Regions from separate parts of the Homo sapiens genome. Here region 1 is linked to region 2. The links are contacts of gene promoters, found by promoter capture Hi-C in human tissues and cell types (Jung and others, 2019). All regions are on one chromosome and are shown on one strand. Each heading gives the region's core, a stretch centred on a gene start or on the middle of the fragment in contact. The rest is flanking DNA. Distances are from core to core; before and after follow the strand shown. Region 1 holds the start of NOL7 (nucleolar protein 7). Region 2 has its middle 3.9 kb from the start of TBC1D7-LOC100130357.

Region 1 (4,682 bases), core at 461-2,960, 280 kb after region 2:
GTAGGGAACGGGGATGCTCATAGCCTATGGGGCGGCTGGAGAACCAGTCAGGGACCCTGAGGGCTCGATGTACACTTTACATGGGTGGGCCAAGGAGTTTACACTGAGGGCACTGGTAATACCTGTAATAGTCTTATAGTACTTATAAAGCAGTTTTGCACATAAAATACCATCATGCACTTATAAGTTTGTTCTTGGGCTGCTCCAAGTTAACTTTATTCATTTTCCTAGTGTTAGTGTCTCAGGGAGTCTGATTATATTTTTGATTTGTAATTTCTATCTGACTAAGGCCTAGAGATTTCAAAACTGTTCTTTGCAATTCCTCTCATACTGAACCTCTGGTTCAGCAGCTTTTTTTGTTGTTGTTGTTTTCAAGTTTTATCATTTTTGTTCCTATTTGGTTTTGTCGTTTTTAAATTGAGAATTGCTTCTAAAACAGAAGACATGAAAAGAGAATTAAAAATACAATATATGTGTAAGATAGAATTATTCAACTTAGCATTTATTAAACATCTACCAGATGATAGACATTAGAAATAAAATGACTAGCAAGACCTGGCCCTTCCCCTCAGGGGTTCACAGAATGGCTGGAGCAACTGTCATATAAGCTGTTATGAAGTGCAGAAACTACACAGACATTTGTGCGGGTTCAGACCAGCGCAATTAGAGATGGGCAGAGTGGGATGGGGTAGGGGTAAGGTGCTTGAAATTTGCCTGGGTGGGAATTTTTGAAGTATAAAAAGGACTTCTACCTGGGGGGCTGCGGCAGTAGAGGGAAGAGCACGGTCGGTACAAATGCATGGCAGGTGTGAAACAGTTTGATTTGTTCAAAGAATGATGAATCACTTAGTGTTGTATAATGGATGGGAGGAGAGAAACACAGCGATCACAAAGGGCCATGTTTGCCAAGAAATAAAATATACTTGGAAAAAAAGTACGTATGTGTATATACCACAAAACTCGGGTGCATTCTCTAGGGACCGGCGAAGCCATTCTTTCAGGAGATATGCTCAGCATTTGCCACGGGCCAGCTGCTGTTCCAGGTCGTGGGTTAGGGCCCGGCACCAGGAAGGGCGCCCCTCCCACAGGGCCGACATCCTAACCGGCGTCGCTGCGGCCGCGGAGCTGGGAAGGCCGAGGGCGCCGGGCACGTCTGTGCAGATTTCTTTAGAGTCCAGGTCTGTCGCCCGCGTCTTCGTCGGTGGCAGCAGGGCTGACTGGCCACGGCGGCCATCTGCTAGAGCGCATTTCTTCCCATGAAACGCCACCTCCTCCGAAGTGCGGAGCGAACGCAGCCAAATCTACACAAAGACTGACAAGCTGGATCCACTCGACGGAACCCAGGGCCAAAAAACGGCGGCGAGCAGCGCCTCGGGCCCGCGATTACCGGTTTTCTGAGCACCGGACAGCGTGAGCCGTGCCAGCCCTGTCTCGCCATCCCAGCCGAGGAGGGCAGCGCGATGGCTCTTCCCTGCCTTGAAATCAACCCCATTGCCAGCCGCTTTCGCCGGCAGAGCATTTTCCGTGGGGTCCATCCGGCTCCAAGGCGGCCTGCGCTGGCCACGTGGAAAGAAACACGCCCACTGCCTACAGGCCACGCCCTTCCTCCCTTCGCGCATGCGCCCCACCCGTCCTGAGGACCTCCGAACCTGCAGGGGGCGATGAAAGTAGGCTTGCGCTCCGCTTGTAGCTGCTTCCGGGTCAGAGGTCAGACGGTCTAGCGCTGCGTGGGCCATGGTGCAGCTCCGACCGCGAGCGTCTCGCGCCCCGGCGTCGGCGGAGGCGATGGTGGACGAGGGCCAGCTGGCCTCGGAGGAGGAGGAGGCGGAGCACGGGCTGTTGCTCGGGCAGCCCAGCAGCGGCGCGGCCGCCGAGCCCCTGGAGGAAGACGAGGAAGGGGACGATGAGTTTGACGATGAGGCCCCGGAGGAGCTGACTTTCGCCAGCGCCCAGGCGGAAGCGAGAGAAGAGGAGCGGCGAGTGCGGGAGACCGTGCGCAGGTTCGGAGCCCGCTGCCCGGCGGGGAGAACCGCCCTTTCTCGTCCCGCTTGTCCTTCCCTTTGCTGACTTATCACCCTTCCTCCCAGGGATAAAACGCTCCTGAAGGAGAAGAGGAAGCGACGCGAGGAGCTGTTCATCGAACAGAAGGTTAGAGGCTAGGGAGGAGGTGTCTTATTAAAACAACTCGGCTCAGGGAGAATTCCTATGGTGGATGTAATTTGGGTTGGCAGGATATTGGAGTGGGGAAACAGTCACCAAGATTGCCTCTGACAGTGGTGGAAAGATGCTCGGGCCGGGCGCGGCAGTACTTTAGTTGGACGAGGTGGGCGGAGCCCGGGATGTCGAGGCTGCCTGGAGCCGAGATCACACCACTGCGCTCCAGCCTGGGCGACAGAGCGAGACCCTGTCTCAAAAAAAAAAAGTTCGTCTCCTTTAGTGTCCACCAACTGAAAATAAGAGGTTGCTGTGAGAATTAAATGAGGTGATTTGTAAACTGTAAGGGCTGTACAGACTTAGTGTATGGTTGCTTTGCTGTCTGATACTCGACACAGAGAGCTGGCTCCAGGCAGACATTACTTAACTGCTTTCAATTTATAACAGTGACCTGAGGGTTAGAATACCGTGGGCACCCTTTCTAGTTTTCATCAAGTCTTTCAGAGAATGTGGAGTTTTGTGGACCCGGTCTTCCCATAGCTTAGAGGTATGGGGGCAGTTTCCAGCCTAATTCATTTCTTTGCCTAGATGTAGGGCATTCTTAAAAGCGGTAACTTCAGAAGCAACTCCGGACATACTATGTACATGACTTTCTATTAATTTTAAACGTTTTCATTCCAAAAGAAAAGAAAACTCCTTCCAGACACTATTTTGGAGAAGTTAACCACAGCTTCACAGACTAAGTAAGTAATGGATCTTTTTATATTACTTGCTTATATACACCCATCTTTGAATTATATACTGGTACATTTATTTGAATCCATATAACTGAAGGAATTGTAGAACCCAAATTCAAAAGCTACCTTGGTATATGAATTTGATGGGAAAGACGGAGGTAACGTTCTACTTCTTATTTTACCATTTATTTTTGTTCATTCCCATAGCTAGCTTTTGAATTCCTGATCCCATTGTGTTCATTCAGTACATTTTGTTGACTGCCTGTCATTGTACTAGGGCATAGTGGGTGGTGGTGAATAAAAAGTGTTTTGAATCATTTAGTGGGGTAGCAGGCACTTATCCACAGGCTCTGAAAACTTGATTTGTCCCATACTTGCCTTACCTGCCACCAACCTGTCCTTCCTGTTCCCCACTTCATTTAGCATCTTTGGTGTTTTATGGTTTAAAGCGAAAAGCTATAGTCGTCTTTGGGAATTGATCAAACCCTACTAAATTTAGCCTTCTAAATTTTTTTTTTTCTATCCTCTTTTTCTCCCCTTAAGGCTTTAAATTCAGAAATTCAGCCCCCTTTTGCTTAGGCCAGTGACTCTCAAGTTTTCAGTAAAAAAACTTTACCAAAGAGTTACTCAGATCCTGAATACATTAAACGTAAGAGCAAATCTATTTGGTGGCAAATTCCCTTTCATCTTTTAAAACCAAGCTCAAGTGTCACCTTTACCTTCTCATTTGCCCCCCCCCACCTCCCATCACTTCCGCTTTTGTGTGGCCTTTCTCCTGTGCAAATGCTTCTGTATTGTATTCTGTCCATTTACATTTCTCTCTCCATTGGGCCACAGCCCCCTTGAGGCTGTTCCCTGTCTCCTGTGCCTAAACTATTAAATTAATCCTTTGTGATTTCTCCAAATGAAATGAGGCAGACCTACTCCCATTCACTTCATATTTCAAATACTTTATAACTTGTTCTGAACAAGTGTTTCACTTGAACTCCATTGCCCACAGCATTTTGCTGCTTTGAAAGCCTGCTAATAGGCTCTCAGATTTTAACTGTGAAGATCTTCCAATGCTTGAGAGTTGGTGGCAGTGTACTAGGGAGTGACTATTGCTTTCCAAACTGATGAGAGCTCCTGAGTAGAAATTGAGGGTGTTGGTAATGAAAGGGGGTGTCTTACTTGTAAAGGCAAATGAAATAATATAACATGTTTTGAGTAATCTTTACTGCCATTGCAGTCAGTGGTTTTGTTTTTTTTCCTTAGCATCAAGAAATCGCCAGGAAAGGTGAAAGAAGGTATGACTATTCTAATTTAACTAACTTCTCATGTAAGTGTCAAGTGCACTTGCAGATGTTTCCAGTCAAATATGAATGGCCCTTAGAAAGCCAGCATGGGCCTGGCCAAGGTTAGCTGGGGCCTATTCCCTGTATTTCATACAAATAAAAACTGCATCCACATTGGTGTGTAGTGGATGCTTAAAGTGAACTCCAGTAAATTTCCTGATTTATTTTTACGTGAATGCTAATTAGAAAATGTAACTCTATTTTTTAGTTAATTTGCAAAAGAAAAATGAAGACTGTGAAAAAGGAAATGACTCCAAGAAAGTTAAAGTACAAAAAGTACAGTCTGTCAGGTAATGAGTCTTTTGTTTCATTTGGGATGTAAAGGAGACCTTTAAGAGAGTTAAAGTATTGGCTAACATGGGAAAATATTTTATTTTATTTTATTTTATTTTTATTTTTTTATTTTTTTGAGACGGAGTCTCGCTCTGTCGCCCAGGCCGGACTGCGGACTGCAGTG
Region 2 (4,735 bases), core at 974-3,473:
AAAATTAGCTGGGTGTGATGGCACACACCTGTAATCCCAGCTACTCTGGAGGCTGAGGCAGGAGAATCGCTTGAACCCGGAAGGCAGAGGTTGCAGTGAGCTGAGATGGTGCCGCCGCACTCCAGCCTGGGCAACGAGAGAAATTCCATTTCAAAAAATATTAATAATAAAATAAAATCATCACCAATGGTGATTATATAGAAGGTGGGAAGGGTTAAATGAGAAAGTATGTAAAGTGCTTGGCATGGTGCCTGGCATGTGGCACAGTAGGGATATATGTGAATTGGCTGTGTCAAGATCAATTAAAAATGCAAAGATGAGTCTCTAAATCATTTTATTTGGGAAAACAGAATTGCAGTTCAGGGCATACACACAGACTGGGGTGGTCTTCAGAACAACAAAGAGATGGTTGGAGGTTTCATTAGAGAAATGTTATGTATTACCTTGAAAGATAGCTCATTGACCCTAAGCAAAGTTTTTAGGAACAGGCAAGCTCTAATTTGTGAGAGAAGGTGGTAAGTAAAACTAGTCTTAGAGTTACAGCAATTCGTTTCAGCAGCTACTGGGTGAAACTGGTCTTCAGGTTATAGCAGGTCACCTTGGCAGCTGGCTTTCAATATAATTCCTGGGCAGGCACTTTGTGCCCCAACTGCTTTCTCTTCTCCCTCATCTCTGGACTCTAATTTAGCTGGGTATGAAGATTACTCCAATTCATACAATCAATTTTCAAGACTGCTGTTCACTGAATGGTGACAGCAATATGGGTGCCTTCAACTGCCCTCCATTCTGTTTTTTGATGAGCTGATAACAGAATATGTGGAAGCTTCCCTAAGAGATAACACTTTGAGACTTTTGTCAACTCTGCAGCCAGAATGAATCTAAAAATATCCCTCTGCAAAAAATCCTTCAGTGGCTCCCCATTTCTCTCAAAGGAAAAACTGAAGTGCTCACAACAGCTTACAACACTTCTCATGGTCTACCTCCTTGTACCTCAGTCTCAGCTACTATGAGTGACTCCCCTGCCTTGGGACCTTCTCATGTTCCCTCTGCCTGAAACACATTATCCTCTGCTAGCCACATGGCCCACTCACTTACCTCAGTCTCAATCAAATGTCCCCTCCCTGAGGCTACTTTCCCCACCCTACCTAAAATTGCAACACTTTACCTGAATCCCAATCCCCTGTATGCAGTTCTACCTTTTCCTTCTTTCACAGCAATGATCCCATTTTTTTTTTTTTTTTTTTTTTGAGACAGTTTTGCTCTTGTTGCCCAGGCTGGAGTGCAATGGTGCGACCTTGGCTCACTGTAACCTTCACCTCCCGGGTTCAAGCGATTCTCCTGCCTCAGCCTCTGTAGTAGCTGGGATTACAGGCCCCCGCCACTGCGCCCAGCTAATTTTTTGTATTTTTAATAGAGATGGGGTTTCACCATGTCGGCCAGGCTGGTCTCAAACTCCTGACCTCAAGTGATCCACCCGCCTCGGCCTCCCAAAGTGCTGGGATTACAGGCCTGAGCCACAGCGCCCGGCCAGCACCGATCACTTTTTAACACACTACATTACTGACTTATTTATTTTAGTTTTTATTGGATCTGTCCTCCCACCAGAACGTCAGTTTCACAAGGTTAGGGATCTTTGCTTCGGTAGCTGATGTATCCTGAGTCCATAGAACAGCGCCTGGCACACAGTAAGTGCTTAATATAGACTTCTAAACAAATGAAAAGGGCTATCACACAATGTGAACAGGTGGCCATTCGTTCTTACAGTTGCATATTTGAGTTGTGAACTGTCAGCATTATTAGTCACTGGACTCTTAGCATAACACAGATTATAGAATGGAGTTGTCAGGCAATAAAATTTTGTGGAATTTAATTGAAATAAGACTTGTAAAACTCACAGGTGTACTTCACTGTAACAGGCATCACTCCTTTCTTGTAATATTTCTGCCCTCTAGTGGTTAGCCTTTTTTGCTAAATTATTTTTTAAAAAATGCACCGTACTGCTAGTTACAGAATCAAATCTCAAGGTTGAAAGGGACTTAAAGGTCAGCGAGTCCCATGAAGTGTGGTGCGGAGAGCTAAGCTTCAGGGCATAAAAACAGCCGCATATCTTCAGAAGTGGCATCCTATCTTTCAGCTTCTAAATTTACTTTGGCAGAATAGTAATTGTCACATACCACTGGCCTCAATCCTTGCGCCTCGTTTTCTAGAGATAAGGAAATGGAGATGGAGTGAGGTTATGGCTGTAGGACAACTGTCTTCATGTTGAGAAGCCATTAAAGTGAATGTAGTAAAAATCCCATCACAGCATAATTGGTGAACATATACATTCAGATAGTTCATGGGTCAAACCACATCTCCAAAACATCTGAAGAGAGACAAACCTGGATGGTCCTGGACACTCATTTCTTCTTCATTGTGGTAATTTGGCAGAAAACTGGCTCAGCAGGTCTGTGTTAACTCAGTCAGATAGGCAGAACCACCTCATCACTGTAAATATTTACAATATTAAGGGCATGGAGATCAGTCTTTATTGGAATGTTGGTCACAGCGCATGTAAACCTCTATGCCTGGTCTAAGCTGAGGGATAATTCGATTCCAGGGATGGCATGCACTCTACTACTTTCTGCTTGTATGTTTTTCCTCTAGTAAACCCAAGCTTATACCTGTATCACTTAACACAGTGGTGTGTTTTCATGGCCCTTCCTGAGCATGCATAACTGTACCCCAGAAATATGCTGTTACAGAGAGGAGACATTGGTTCACCTGTCAAAACGGGTGGCATATGTCTTACGTACATGTGATTATAGACTTCCAATACTGTCCTGGTATATAGAAACCTCTGGCTACAGCCATAGGTTTCCTAGTGCGTATGGGGTCATTTAACAAATAATGATTCCGTTAACCACTGATACTTGTCTGACCTCGGCCCTGTCTTCTCTTTTGCATGAATCTTTGATAGTTCTAGTGTCAAAACAGTAGGTACAGTCAGCGGGGTAGAAAAGCAAACTCTATTTTCAGTGAAACTAGAAAATAATATGTCAAGTAGGTGGAGAAGTTTCCAAAAGCAGTGGAAACCAAGCAGGGCACGTGTAGGAAAAGGCAGAGAACGAGAGAGAGGTCCAAAGCTACAGATCTCAGAAATAGCCAGCAAAACACACACTTCTCAAAGGTGAGGGGTTTACCTTGAGAAGCAATATGTATTTCTGTTGTGTGCCATCTTGGGAATAGAACAACCAGGCTGGTGACAAGGGCATCTCACAACCAAGTTAGATTCTGTGATGCAAAAAACAGGTCACTCTTCTAAAGATAACAATGATCAAATCTGGACGAAATATAAAAAACAAGTACTTGCAGGTGTTTTAGTGTAACCGAGAGCAGGTGGATTCTTGTGGGGTGTTGAGCTTTGGAAGAATGGAACAGCACCAGGTAAGCTTCCCATTTTCAAAGCCACTGGTGGGCTCACCCCTTGGCCCTGGGGGTGTGGTGGTTGTTTGCAGGGGCTGTGCCTGAAGCATGGGCCTGCGGTCTGGGGTACCTGTACACATGCACAGGAACTCCCAATCATGGAGGTGGAGGCAAGAGGAGAAGGAGGGCGATGGAACTGGTAGAAAGTGAACAGTTTCCGTATTCCCTTCTCTTCTGTATTGTGGAACGGTATGTATAGATTGGTATTGTCTCTTCCTTGAATGTTTGGTAGAATACACCAATGAAACTATCTGGGTCTAGAGTTTTCTTTGTGAGAAGGTTTTAAACTTTACATGCAATTTCTTCAATAGATAGAGGCTATTCAGGAGATCTGTTTCTTCTTTATTAAGATTTGGTAGTTTAGGGCTGGGCGCGGTGGCTCACGCTTGTAATCCTAGCATTTTGGGAGGCCGAGGTTGTTGGATCACTTGAGATCAGGAGTTCGAGACCAGCCTGGCCAACATGGTGAAACCCCGTCTATACTAAAAATTTAAAAAGTTAGCCAGGCATGGTGGCAGTTGCCTGTAATCCCAGCTACTCAGGAGGCTGAGGTGGGAGAATTGCTTGAACCCGGGAGACGGAGGTTGCAGTGAGCTGAGATGGCACCATTGCCCTCCAGCCTGGGCGACGAGAGCAAAACTCCATCTCAAAAAAAAAAAAAAAAAAAAAAAGATTTGGTAGTTTAGGTCTCTGAAGAAATGTTTCTATTTCATTTAAGTTTTTAAAAGTATTACATTAAATTCAGGAACACAATACATTGTTATTAACTTTAGTCACCATTATGGACAATAGAACTCTTAAACTTATTCCTGCTGTCTAAAATTTTTTACCCTTTGACCAACATCTCTCTAACACCTACCCACCCCAGCCCCTAATAACCTCCATTCTGCTCACTGCTTCTATTAGTTCAATGTTTTGAGATTCCACATATAAATGAGATCATGCAATATTTCTCTTTCTGGGCCTGGCTTATTTCACTCAACATAATAAGTCCTCCAGGTTTATCCATGTTACTGCAAATGGCAGGATTTCCTTCTTTTTAAAGGCTGTACATATATGTACCACATTTTCTTTACCCATGAATATACCCATGATTGGGATATTTCTCACACTGTGAGCTTAGGAAAACTTCATTCCTAAACAGTGGTTGGGATTGTGCCTCCACCAACTGACAGTAGATGTTTATCCATTAATCTCTTGCTGTACACTTGAGTTGTTTCATGCATTGGCTATTGTAATTAATGCTGCAATGGAGATAGGAGTGCAGACA

What was found. The method cuts DNA at HindIII sites, captures the fragments that hold promoters and counts their contacts. A contact is called where the count stands out against the background at its distance.
Region 1: a contact is called between the fragment with the promoter of NOL7 here and a fragment that was not itself captured in region 2, in 12 of the 25 tissues and cell types used here (H1 embryonic stem cells, adrenal gland, dorsolateral prefrontal cortex and 9 more).

What each region holds. Positions count from the first base shown.
Region 1 is chr6:13,613,625-13,618,306 of GRCh38, forward strand. NOL7 (nucleolar protein 7) reads left to right here and starts at 1,711. Exons shown (of 8, transcript NM_016167.5): 1 at 1,711-2,000; 2 at 2,088-2,148; 3 at 2,839-2,897; 4 at 4,146-4,177; 5 at 4,434-4,515. The coding sequence starts at 1,735. It overlaps SIRT5 (sirtuin 5), which reads left to right. Exons shown (of 10, transcript NM_012241.5): 10 at 1-1,534. It overlaps LOC124901263 (a long non-coding RNA gene), which reads right to left and starts at 1,578. Exons shown (of 2, transcript XR_007059461.1): 1 at 1-1,578. RefSeq lists an enhancer at 924-1,093. The HindIII fragment of the contact is 29,829 bases long and covers 1-4,682 here.
Region 2 is chr6:13,330,022-13,334,756 of GRCh38, forward strand. No RefSeq gene overlaps it. Among named protein-coding and RNA genes, the nearest start is that of TBC1D7-LOC100130357, 3.9 kb to the left of the region's middle. The HindIII fragment of the contact is 4,242 bases long and covers 103-4,344 here.